Regions from separate parts of the Homo sapiens genome. Here region 1 is linked to region 2. Evidence: promoter capture Hi-C in 16 types of primary human blood cells and fetal thymus (Javierre and others, 2016). All regions are on one chromosome and are shown on one strand. Each heading gives the region's core, a stretch centred on a gene start or on the middle of the fragment in contact. The rest is flanking DNA. Distances are from core to core; before and after follow the strand shown.

Region 1 (6,057 bases), core at 2,757-5,256, 300 kb after region 2:
CCTTCATCTTGGGAACTGTTAGGATTATTAAAGGATAAATGGAAAGTAAAAGAGTCAAACGTTCAGAGTTTAAATTCCAAAACACAAGTTTTGAGCCCCTGGCTTTCAACAAAAAACAAGGCTCTATACAGACAGGTGAAATGTCCTTCCAAATTCCAACAGGCTCCTGGGAAGCTGGGTGGACACTCAGGATGGCCTGGCTCCAGGTCACCTTGCCTTGCGCCACTGTCTTTAGGAGTGAAAACAATCTGTGAGCAGCATCATAGCTGGGCTAACAAATAGTGGAGCGAGTATCGTGGAGGAGGATTCAAGGCTTCTTTATAACCTGGAAGACAGAACAAGGGACGAGAAATACAGGTAGCAAGTGTCAGCTCACGTAGGAATTAAAATCTGCTTTTCCAATTCTCCATCCCTGGGACTGTTTGAGCAGACTGCCTGGCCCCTGTGTTTCATGGTGGGTGATGCTCTGGATGAACTGAGAAACCTCCCATTTCCTCTTGACTCTTAGATCCTGTGCCCTTATTTTAAGAGCAACCAGAATGACTGTGTTTCCTAAAGTGTGGCCCTCCCGCAGGGGCCTTGGGTAAGTTTCAGTGTTCAAGGGATGGAATAAACATGGTCATGAAATATGTCATGAGATGGGGCCTGAGGGCTTTCCCTGCACTTCTATGCATAGCAAAGAGCAAAGGCTCTTGAGCAAACAAAACACAGCAATAAACCTTTAGAGTCATGTGGCCCATGGTGAACTTATCACTAGTCCAGGGAAATGGAGGAAACAGAGGAACACTGGGTGGTTATTTTTCCTAACATTAAATTATTCCATTGAAGGAAATTACCACTGTTCTACCACTATAACTTTCCTAGTTTTGTTAGTTCCCTTCCCCTCCCCTCCCCTCCCCTCCCCTCCCCTCCTTTCCCCTTCCCTTCCCTCTTTCTCTCCTTTCAGGGTACTATAATTGGTGACAGCATTGGATAGTTGTTGCTTTCAACTGTTCTGTTAGTTTTATGGAAGGGTAACTTAAAATGTCACTGGGAAAAGACAGATAAATCCACAAGTAGGAACATTCTACAAGATAACTGGTTTTGCATTTTTGCTCTATGGCTGGGTTTTTAAACCGCACCCCAGTGTTGAATGTCACACAACTGGAGCAAAGCCTCCTATTTTGGGTCATTTCTTCCAGGAATCACTTGCTGGGGGGTTGAATGTGTTCCTTGAATTATGATTACCCTCTGTGTCTGCGCACACATTCTCTGCCTTAGGTCCCCCAAACATTGTCTCCATGAGAACACCTTACTGCCTTTTCTCAATGGTTTTTGCACCCAGGAGGCCTGTTTGGAGCTGGTAACTCCACACCGCATGGAAAGCAGCCATCCTGAAGGCTGCCAGTAATAGCAGGTTAGTACCAGGTGCCCAGGGGGAGCGAAGAGGGACCCAGTCACCCAGGGCAGCGGGCACTGCACTCCAAAACTATCAGGCACTGGAAACAAAAGCAACACACAAGACAAAATGACAGCTTCTAAGGTGAGCCGAGAACTGCAGTTCAGAGCGTCACTTGAGGCTGTACGTGATTGTCACATGTCTGGAAATATTATCAGTAGTTGGCCCATTTCCACACTGCCTCCCAAGGCTCATACCACCTCCAAGAACTGGAATTTGGGACAGATGTGAGTTCCTGGTGCTCCTCACAGCCTCCTGCCTGGACTACTAGGGGCTCACCTCGCCTGCACTGTGGAGCTGCTGAGCAATGCACCTGGGGTACCCCTGGATGACCAGAGGGTTCAGCTGGTCCTGCACTTCGCACACAAACTGCTGCAGTGACATCAGCTGGTTGGGTCCATTGAGGTTCCACCAGGAAGGCAGCATGGAGATGATTTTCTCACACAGGTGAGTCATGGGAGGGCAGACCTAGAAGAAGCAGGGCAGGACAGGTTAACTCACCTGCAGCTGTGGGTGCCCTGAGCGGAGCTGCGGTGGAGAGGACATCTTTCATTCAGGTGCCTTGCAGGTGATTTGGTGAACAAATAAGCACGTTTATGCTTGAGTACTGGGACAGTTATTATTTTAGTTACCATCAAGTGGAATCAATTTATCAAATATAAGGTTTTATAGAGGCTCTTCAGTTCTACTGGAAATCTATTAAACAGATTTTGAGTCTTCCAAGAATGTTTTTGGAATTGTGGACTCAGTCACTCAATCAACTAATGTTCACCAACTCCTAATGTTTCACTCCCTCACTTCTTCCTCCCTCCCTCCTTTCTTCCCTCGCTGTCTCTCCCTCCTGTGACTGTTTCACTCATGTAATGACCACTTTATGAACAAAAAGAGGAAAAGAGCATGAGTATCATCATCAATGTCAGAGTGGGTTTTGACCAGTAAATTAGCATTCATGGGGACTGTTGTTGAAATATTGTTTCAAATTAGACCAATTCTTGGTAATTAGCTTGAAATGATTTTCTAACCTTTTAAGTTGGTTAAATAAATCAGCCTATGTTACAGATTCATATAATTGACGCACCTCCTGATTAGAAACCACACATGCCATGCCCTGCACTGCGCCGTTAATTCCACACTCCCCTCTCAAATCCTTTTATATCAACTAAATTCCACTCCCTATTCCCAAAACAGGATTCTCAGGGGTGAGTGCAGTTGACGTGGTGGGCTCCACCTGCCTGAGCTCAGGAGTTTAGGGGTTGGGTGGGGGGTATCTGAGAAGCAGCAGATCATGCCACAGCCCAGCTCAAAAATCTCCAGGGACACTCCCTCCTGCCTCAGGAATGCAGCCCCAATCCAGACCTGGTGGGGAAGTGCAGGGGCCCTCACAGACAGACCACTGTTAGTTCCTAGATCACCGCCCCTGGTTTCTGTGACAGATTCCTCCCAGGCCTCGCCGGACTACTCCCTTTGTGTTTCCCGAGAATTCCAAAAGCATGTCTGGATCCAGCGCCTGCTGTCGGGAGTGCAGGGTTTTGGAAGGGGGGCCCATAACAGGAGGTGGCCCCTGCTGGACAGCAGAGGGGCCCAGAGCTGACACTCAGGCTTGGGCAGTAGGAACCTTCTGAGAACGCGTTACCACTTTCCACTGGGATGTCTGCCCTTTTCTTACTAATTTTGGAGAGCTTTTTGAATATTATGGGTAGTAGTAACCCTCTAGCTGTGAAATGCATTGAGAATATTTTTTTCCAGGTCTATTTCACTTTGTAACTTTGTGGAATATATTTGCCAGAAAGTCTTTTTTTAAAAGTGTGTCAAATATGTACATTTTCTTTAAACATATCTAGGGTTTTAAAAGGTTTCTAAACTTCCAAGTCATTTTAAAAACAAGTTTTCCCAAATTTCCATTCAAGAGATTGTTGTATCATTTCACGGTGAAAAGCTCTAATCCATTTATCTTTATGCTCTGTAGTGAGCGGGAGTTCAACGTTGTTTACCTTTAGGCAAATAGCCAGCTGTGTCAAGATCGCTTATCAAACAAACATTTTCCCCATTAAATTGAAATAACATATTTTGCTTTCTATAACATTTCTGTAGATATTATGATTGACTTCTATACTCTCTAGGCTGTTCCTATAACTTATTTAATCATATTGATTATAGAGCCTTTATAATGTTTTATTTATTCTTCTATTAAAGTTATAAGATAGGAAACTCAATCTCCTTAGTCCCATTCAGATGCTAACTGGAACTCTATTAAATTTATATAACTCAGAGAAATTGAAACATCCAGTCCTATCTTGCTATCAGGGATAGCAATCTCCTTCCATTTTTTTCATCTACTATTTTATGTCCTTCAATAATTTTGTTAGTGACGGTTTTTCTACTTCTCTGAATTTTCTAAATATTCCACAATGTCACTTTGGAATTACTTTTGTAATTCGAGGGCAGGATCTGGGGGCCCAGGACAAGCTTCTCCTCTCTCTGCTGCCACAGCCAGTTCTGCTCCGGGGAGCTCAGGGGACACCAACTTTCCAGAGAACAAAATGCACATGGACTCTGATTCTGTCTATTCATTAGAGACAGAAAGTCATAGTTGATGCTGAGATACAGATGTAGGGAATGTTTTCTTTCAATGTTTCAGTATGTTCCTTGCTCTCAAATATTTCTGAAGGGTGAAGCTTTACATCTTCCCAGGACTACTTCATCCAGCAACCATGGCGTGCTCTGTGCAGCACCCCAGCTGGTCTCATGCCACTTGAACAGGAGTCCCCTGCCTGTGGGGTGTGGTCTGGTGCTGATGCACAGGCTCTAAGAGCATCAAGTGACTGTTGACTTGCCTGGCCCAGGGCTAGTGGCATCTTCTCTGGTGGCATCTTCCCATCCACCTCTGGGTCCAGCTGCTGAGCTGTGCCTTCTATCCAGGGCTCCCTCAGACTCAAGGCTGCAGGTGCACACCCCAGGTCAAGTTTTCCCCACACCGGGCAGGAGGAAAAGGTGCTATGGGGCCTGTGTGCACGGCCTCCTGCCTCTTTACAGCCTCAGGCAGATGCTGGTTTAACTGTAGGTGAAGCTCCTTATTTCCAGGTACTGGATAACACTCTGCCTACCCCTCTGGAGCCAATGGACCACCTGGGCATTAAGCAATGGGGGCCTCCATGGGGTTGCACACATCTCTTGTTCTTGCCAGGTCCTCCCAGAGGCTGCATGGCTTTGCTAGAGAGCTCTGAGACTGAATGTTGCCTCTGACATTGACTAGGCATGACCTTACCAGGGCCCACACACTCCAATGCATTTCTGCGCAGGGTACTGTCCTTCTCCCCTGGTTGGGAATGTCATCACAGAGCAGAATTTCACACCAGGGGCAGGACCTGCTTCTGAGGTCTCTCTCCTGTTCCAAGGGACTCTTGACTCTTGGAGTTGGAGTGCAGGTGGAGAACATCATGAAATCAGAGCCTGTGTCCCTCTAAGTGGAGCAGCTGCCGCCTCCCCGCTACCCAGCACCACGGAGGAAGGTGCATCCAGTGTGGAACAGGCTTCCCACAAGAAGCCAAATATCCACATTTTTAGGTGTGATCTCCTGATTTTTAAATGACAGTCAATGTCCCCCCTCCCCTCCTCATACTCAACAGAGCACTGCAGCTTGTAGGGGAGGCCCCCATCTGCTGTGTTCCTCTCGCCTGGGAAGACCCACCTCGAACTTCTGAGCCTTGGGTTACTTTCCTCTGAAATGGGCTCATGAGAGGACCGCACAGATCCTGGCAGTCAAATGACAGGCTCTGTGGACAGCGTCTGGAACCCGGGTGAGCACCAGCTACAGGACTCCCTAGGTCCTTCCCACTGGGCCTGGCTCCTATGGAGGGTCCCACATGTATTCTTGCCCAAGGCTCACTAAGTAATAGAGCCTGGACAGCCCCAGTCCAAGCACCGTCACATCTCCCCTGGTTGCCAAGATCATCTCCTATCAGGTCCCTCTGCTCCACCTCCTGACCCCGAGGCTCCAGTCTGAGCAGCTGGGGGAATTCCTAAACCTAAGGCAGATCTCGCACCAGCCAGCTTAACACACTTGGCCCAAACCCAGTCTCCTCACCCCCCAGGTAAGGTCTATAAAGCCGTGCCACCTCTCGGGTCACGTCGTCGGGGTCACGTCGTCGGGGTCACATCGCTCGCGCATCGTTCTCTGCCTGCACCTCCAGGCCCATCCTCTGGCCCTAGCCCAGTTACCCTCCTTCTTTGTTGTTTTATGCTTGAGCTCCTCCAACCCTTCACTACCTGGCCCCTTGCACTCCCTATTCCTCTGTCTTCCTCCAGCCCTTCCTCGGGCTGCTTCCTTCTTCTTGCCCTTCAGGTCTTGGTTTCAGTGTCACATCAGAGAGGTCCTCATCAGCCAGGTGAAAGTAGACTCCACCATCCTCTCATCTCACTTCATCCTGTTTCAATTCCCTGCATGGCACCTACCCCAGGAGGCAGCAACCCTTTCTGTAGAGGGCCAGATGGTCTCTGTGGCAACTCAACTCTGCCATGTATGAACACCAGCCGTAGACAAGAGCGTGTGGCCGTGTCTCAATAAAACTTTATTTACAGAAGCAGGTGGTGAGTTGTAGGCTGTTATTTATCACCCATTG
Region 2 (5,878 bases), core at 1,415-3,914:
ACCTAACCTTGGAAATAAATTACACTGTGCCACTGCCACTACCTTTTCTTAGAAGCAAGCAGATAGGGTTGGTGAATATTTATTGAGAGGGGAATTAGACTCCACCTCTTGATTGGGGGAGTGTCAAAGAATTTGTGAATATGTTTTTAAATGACCACATTTCCCCTTTCTAAAATGCTTGTCTAAATTGGTGTACACAAAAAGCTCGGGGGTTAGTGACTCATCCAAGGTTATTAAGCTGTTAAATGGTTCCACCAATACTAGATCTAATTTTGTGACTCCAAATTTCATGCTCTTTTTCACTACTCCAGATAATCTCCGGTGAACATCATTGTCCATTAGGGTAGTTAAGACATTCTAGCTGCCAAATAGATTCAGTCCTTTTAATTGCCTCGGACAATATATTTTTTATTTTGCAGAAAATAAATATTACCCATATGGCAGTCATCCATAAACACCTTCCAAGTTTATCCCAAACATCTGTGTTTTAAATTTTTTCTCCCAACAGATGTATTCATTTGCATTTTCCCAGATGAATCACTCTTTTTTTGTTGTTGTTGTTATTTTTGACTGTATTTCTCACCTCTCAAGACCCTTTTGTATTATCAAGCCCACTGCTTAAGCTAATACCATCTCCCAATTTGGGGACTTCCCCTTGATTCCTGTGTGCCCTTCCTGTGGGTCATTAATGCAATGTTATTTAAGACTAGGATTTGGCTGGGCGCAGTGGCTCACGCCTGTAATCCCAGCACTGTGGGAGGCCGAGCCGGGAGGATCACCTGAGGTCAGGAGTTCAAGACCAGCCTGACCAACATGGTGAAACCACGTCTCTACTAAAAATACAAAATTAGCCGGGCATAGTCACATGCCTGTAATCCCAGCTACTGGGTAGCCTGAGGCAGGAGAATCGCTTGAACCCGGGAGGCGGAGGCGGAGTTTGCAGTGAGCCAAGATTTCACAACTGCACTCCAGTCTGGGCCACAAGAGCGAAAACCCGTCTCAAAAAAAAAAAAAAGACTAGGATTTGACATAAGGCCTGAGGGGTATTCTTTTGTTTTGTTTTGCCTTGTTTTCAAGAGGCCAAAATCTTCACAGTTGAAAATTTCTGTTGAACCACAGAGATTTGAACCAACTCAGTTTAGAAAGCCTGGGGATTTGAACAACGGTATGGATCGGAAATCTCTTCATCTGTCAGTTTTCATCATTCTAGGCAGTAAAATAGATTTCCCTTTAGGAGCTTTTCACCGTTTGGGGTTCTCCAGCAGTGGGATGTGGGGAATCAACCCTTCTTCGTCTCCACCCAAACATTAGGTGGGAGCAAGGGGTGGGAAGTAGAGAAAGTGGATAGAGGTCTCCAGTGGATATGGGATCTTTGTGTAGACCAGCACAGTCCTCAGAAATCTCATGCAAGCAACATAGGTACTGTTATATTTTCTAGTGGCCACCTTTTAAAAAGTAAACAGGTGAGGCCGGGCGCGGTGGCTCACGCCTGTAATCCCAGCACTTTGGGAGGCCCAGGCGGGCGGATCACGAGGTCAAGAGATGGAGACCATCCTGGTCGACACGGTGAAACCCCGTCTCTACTAAAAATACAAAAATTAGCTGGGCATGGTGACGCGCGACTGTAGTCCTAGCTACTGGGGAGGCCGAGGCAGGAGAATCACTTGAACCCTGGAGGTGGAGGTTGCCACGCTCCACTACACTCCAGCCTGGCGACAGAGTGAGACTCCGTCTCAAAAAAAAGAAAGTAAACAGGTGAAATTAATTTTAATAATATATTTTGTTTAACCCAACGTATCCAAAATACTATCATTTGAAAGTGTAATGAATATAAAAATATTCATGAGATATTTTTCATTCTCATATCCATACTGTCTTGGACTCTAATGTGTATTTTACACTTACAGCACAATTAATTTGGGACTAGCTACATTTCAGCTCAACAATAGCCAATAGCATATGGGATAGCGCAAATAAACTCTGCGTCTCTGTTGCTTCTTTGGGTCTCGGAGACCTCAACCCTTTCTTCAGATTGCAAACCTTCTTGCCTTCAAGCCTCGGCTCCAACACCAGTCCGGCAGAGGAACCCAGTCTAATGAGGTACGCTCCCTTCCTGCCATTCTCTATTCCATTAACCTGTTTCGTGGTAAACGTAGGACTGATCCTCCAAAATTACCTTATTAATTAGCTTACATATTTATTATCTATCTGTCCCACCAGAATGCAGGTTTCCGGAAGGCAGGGATTTAAAAAAATCTGTTTTGTTCTATGTGATTTTCCCATACCAAGCACCGTGCCCGGCACAAGCTGGGATCCCAGTACACATCTCGGGACGGAAGAACCGTGTTTCCCTAGAACCCAGTCAGAGGGCAGCTTAGCAATGTGTCACAGGTGGGGCGCCCGCGTTCCGGGCGGACGCACTGGCTCCCCGGCCGGCGTGGGTGTGGGGCGAGTGGGTGTGTGCGGGGTGTGCGCGGTAGAGCGCGCCAGCGAGCCCGGAGCGCGGAGCTGGGAGGAGCAGCGAGCGCCGCGCAGAACCCGCAGCGCCGGCCTGGCAGGGCAGCTCGGAGGTGGGTGGGCCGCGCCGCCAGCCCGCTTGCAGGGTCCCCATTGGCCGCCTGCCGGCCGCCCTCCGCCCAAAAGGCGGCAAGGAGCCGAGAGGCTGCTTCGGAGTGTGAGGAGGACAGCCGGACCGAGCCAACGCCGGGGACTTTGTTCCCTCCGCGGAGGGGACTCGGCAACTCGCAGCGGCAGGGTCTGGGGCCGGCGCCTGGGAGGGATCTGCGCCCCCCACTCACTCCCTAGCTGTGTTCCCGCCGCCGCCCCGGCTAGTCTCCGGCGCTGGCGCCTATGGTCGGCCTCCGACAGCGCTCCGGAGGGACCGGGGGAGCTCCCAGGCGCCCGGGTGAGTAGCCAGGCGCGGCTCCCCGGTCCCCCCGACCCCCGGCGCCAGCTTTTGCTTTCCCAGCCAGGGCGCGGTGGGGTTTGTCCGGGCAGTGCCTCGAGCAACTGGGAAGGCCAAGGCGGAGGGAAACTTGGCTTCGGGGAGAAGTGCGATCGCAGCCGGGAGGCTTCCCCAGCCCCGCGGGCCGGGTGAGAACAGGTGGCGCCGGCCCGACCAGGCGCTTTGTGTCGGGGCGCGAGGATCTGGAGCGAACTGCTGCGCCTCGGTGGGCCGCTCCCTTCCCTCCCTTGCTCCCCCGGGCGGCCGCACGCCGGGTCGGCCGGGTAACGGAGAGGGAGTCGCCAGGAATGTGGCTCTGGGGACTGCCTCGCTCGGGGAAGGGGAGAGGGTGGCCACGGTGTTAGGAGAGGCGCGGGAGCCGAGAGGTGGCGCGGGGGTGCCACCGTTGCCGCAGGCTGGAGAGAGATTGCTCCCAGTGAGGCGCGTACCGTCTGGGCGAGGGCTTCATTCTTCCGCGGCGTCCCTGGAGGTGGGAAAGCTGGGTGGGCATGTGTGCAGAGAAAGGGGAGGCGGGGAGGCCAGTCACTTCCGGAGCCGGTTCTGATCCCAACAGACCGCCCAGCGTTTGGGGACGCCGACCTCGGGGTGCCGTGGTGCCCGGCCCCACGCGCGCGCGGGGCTGAGGGGTCGGGGGCGTCCCTGGCCGCCCAGCTTTAACAAAGGGTGCTCCTCTCCACCCCGCGAGGAGGGGCAGCTCCGGAGACCCGGTCTTCAGCGAGCGGGGTCTTAGCGCCGGGGAGGTCTACTTCCTTTTGGGGTTGCCATTTTACTATTATTATTGCCTTTTTTTTTTCTTCAAAAGGACTGGAGACTGATGCATGAGGGGGCTACGGAGGCGCAGGAGCGGTGGTGATGGTCTGGGAAGCGGAGCTGAAGTGCCCTGGGCTTTGGTGAGGCGTGACAGTTTATCATGACCGTGTTCAGGCAGGAAAACGTGGATGATTACTACGACACCGGCGAGGAACTTGGCAGGTAAAGGGGGTACCAGAAGCGTACCCTCCTGGATTGTGGAAATGCATAACGATGGGGCCATTGGGTGGTAAACAAATGCAGTTTGAATCAGGCGTCTCCCTCGCCCTTTCTGGAGATGCGCAAATCATAGAGAAAAGAGTTACTAACCCAGCGGTAAACCGCCTGATCCAAGGGCCTGGGGGTGGAGGAGAGGCAGCAGTTCAGGGCTAGATTATGATGCACAGTATATTGATCCAGTCCCCTGGACAAAATCAGATTTAATTGTCCGTGCTAACTCTTGTCAGCCCTTGCCCTTCTGTGACAACAGGACAAACACTAAGATTATAATTGCAATTGGAGTTAGCTTTTATGTGTGATTTAAACGGAGGGTACAAACTAATTAATAGGTTTTAAAAATCTTAGTACTTTACCCTCTATCTAAATTTTCAGTGTAATTTGAGCAAGTATTGGTAGGTGGTAAATGGAGACTTGCCAGATGTTGACATTGGGCTTGGATTTTGAAACTTCTTCCAACCAGGAATTTAATTACCTGGTTGGTGTTGGTGGTTGCTTTGGTTTCATTTACAATGTTAAATTTTTAACAAATCAATGAGAGTCTAATATGGCTATCTGGATTCAGAGCATACCTCCATTGCTGTAGCAGCTGTGATTCTCAGTGTAAAATCTTTCAGTTTCTAGGTAAACAAAGAATAGTTTCTTTCGGGGCATCTAAGGGCTGATTGCTGTTTCCTTTGACTGTGTATTAGACAGAGTGTTTTGGGCTCTGGTCAACTTTAGTAGAAAACCTAGTTTTCATACATACATTTAAAACTGAATTTATGGAATTTGACTGTGGTGTATTTACATTGTGAGTGGAGTAGGCAAAAGGATCTTTAAACAAACAAAATATGTATTTACTTATATGTGCATTGAAATATGTATTTTCCCATATACATCTGATGTCCTGATACAAAGCTTCCTTTTTCTCCATGAAAAGGAAATTAAAAAACACCCACATCCTGGATTGCCTAATGAGAATTATGGAAACTAAGCTTAACTAAATTTTTTTAAAAATTCAAATGATAGTGTAGAATTTTTTTAAAAGTTACTGTAACAGAGTATTTCTCTAAATATTTAGTATCGACTGAAAACATAGATGGGGGCCTGTGCTTAGGAAGAGCTCTCTGTATATTGATGATCTGGTGAGTAAATAAGGAAAGCTCTTCAAACATCACATTTCATGGATATGTTTAAGATTAAAGTTTAAGAGTGTGTGGGTGAAATATTTGGTTTAACTGGAATTAAATAACTTTACTGTGGTTTTCAGCAAGATGAGTGGTATTTGGAGTTTTCCTTTGGGACTGGAAGAAAAAAGCAAAAAAATAAATTTTAATTTGATTTGCATAGTGTGGCCTGATCGTTTAAGTGTTGTTAGAAAGAGAGATGACTAAAATTAGTTGAGATTATTATATTATGGATTAAGTATATTGACCTTATTTTCATTATGATTTTTTGGTACCATTATGTGTTATGAGAAAGAAATAGAAAAAGAGGCCTCCCTGTGGTTGGCGAAGGGAGTTTTTGATCTTTATTTCGTGGGCGTGATGATGAGGGGAGGGAGGTGGCTTACTTATTTGTCACTAGCACTTTGATTTGCTCAGTGTACATTTTTGTGTATAACGTTCTCCCCACTGTGCAAGGCAAATTGACAAATTGTTTATTAAATAATTTGTGTGACCTAGGAATTTTAAAGAAATGCTCTGAAAAACTGGAAGTCTGAAGTTTTTAAAAATGAAATGTACAGACTCATCTATCTTGTATAACTGCTATTGTTTTTGCCAAAAAATGAGTGAATGATTGTTTTTTGGAAAATTTTTCAAGTCCTGATTTTATGTCTGCCTTGGATGTAGCCACTTCCTGAAAACAAGTCCTAATGTAAAATGGACATGTAGGAAGATGCTG

Evidence for each region. Contacts are between HindIII fragments. The CHiCAGO score rates a contact against its expected background, and 5 or more counts as called.
Region 1: a fragment that was not itself captured here is called in contact with the fragment with the promoter of DAPK1 in region 2 in 2 of 17 cell types (erythroblasts and monocytes); the score reaches 5.9 in erythroblasts.

The regions. Positions count from the first base shown.
Region 1 is chr9:87,797,790-87,803,846 of GRCh38, forward strand. It overlaps the pseudogene LOC100420576. Among named protein-coding and RNA genes, the nearest start is that of CTSL, 75 kb to the left of the region's middle. RefSeq lists an enhancer at 2,442-2,942. The HindIII fragment of the contact is 209 bases long and covers 3,903-4,111 here.
Region 2 is chr9:87,495,203-87,501,080 of GRCh38, forward strand. DAPK1 (death associated protein kinase 1) reads left to right here and starts at 2,665. Exons shown (of 26, transcript NM_004938.4): 1 at 2,665-2,905; 2 at 3,768-3,937. The coding sequence starts at 3,876. RefSeq lists silencers at 2,314-2,373, 2,394-2,743, 3,114-3,303, 3,514-3,623 and an enhancer at 3,014-3,771. The HindIII fragment of the contact is 10,886 bases long and covers 1-4,889 here.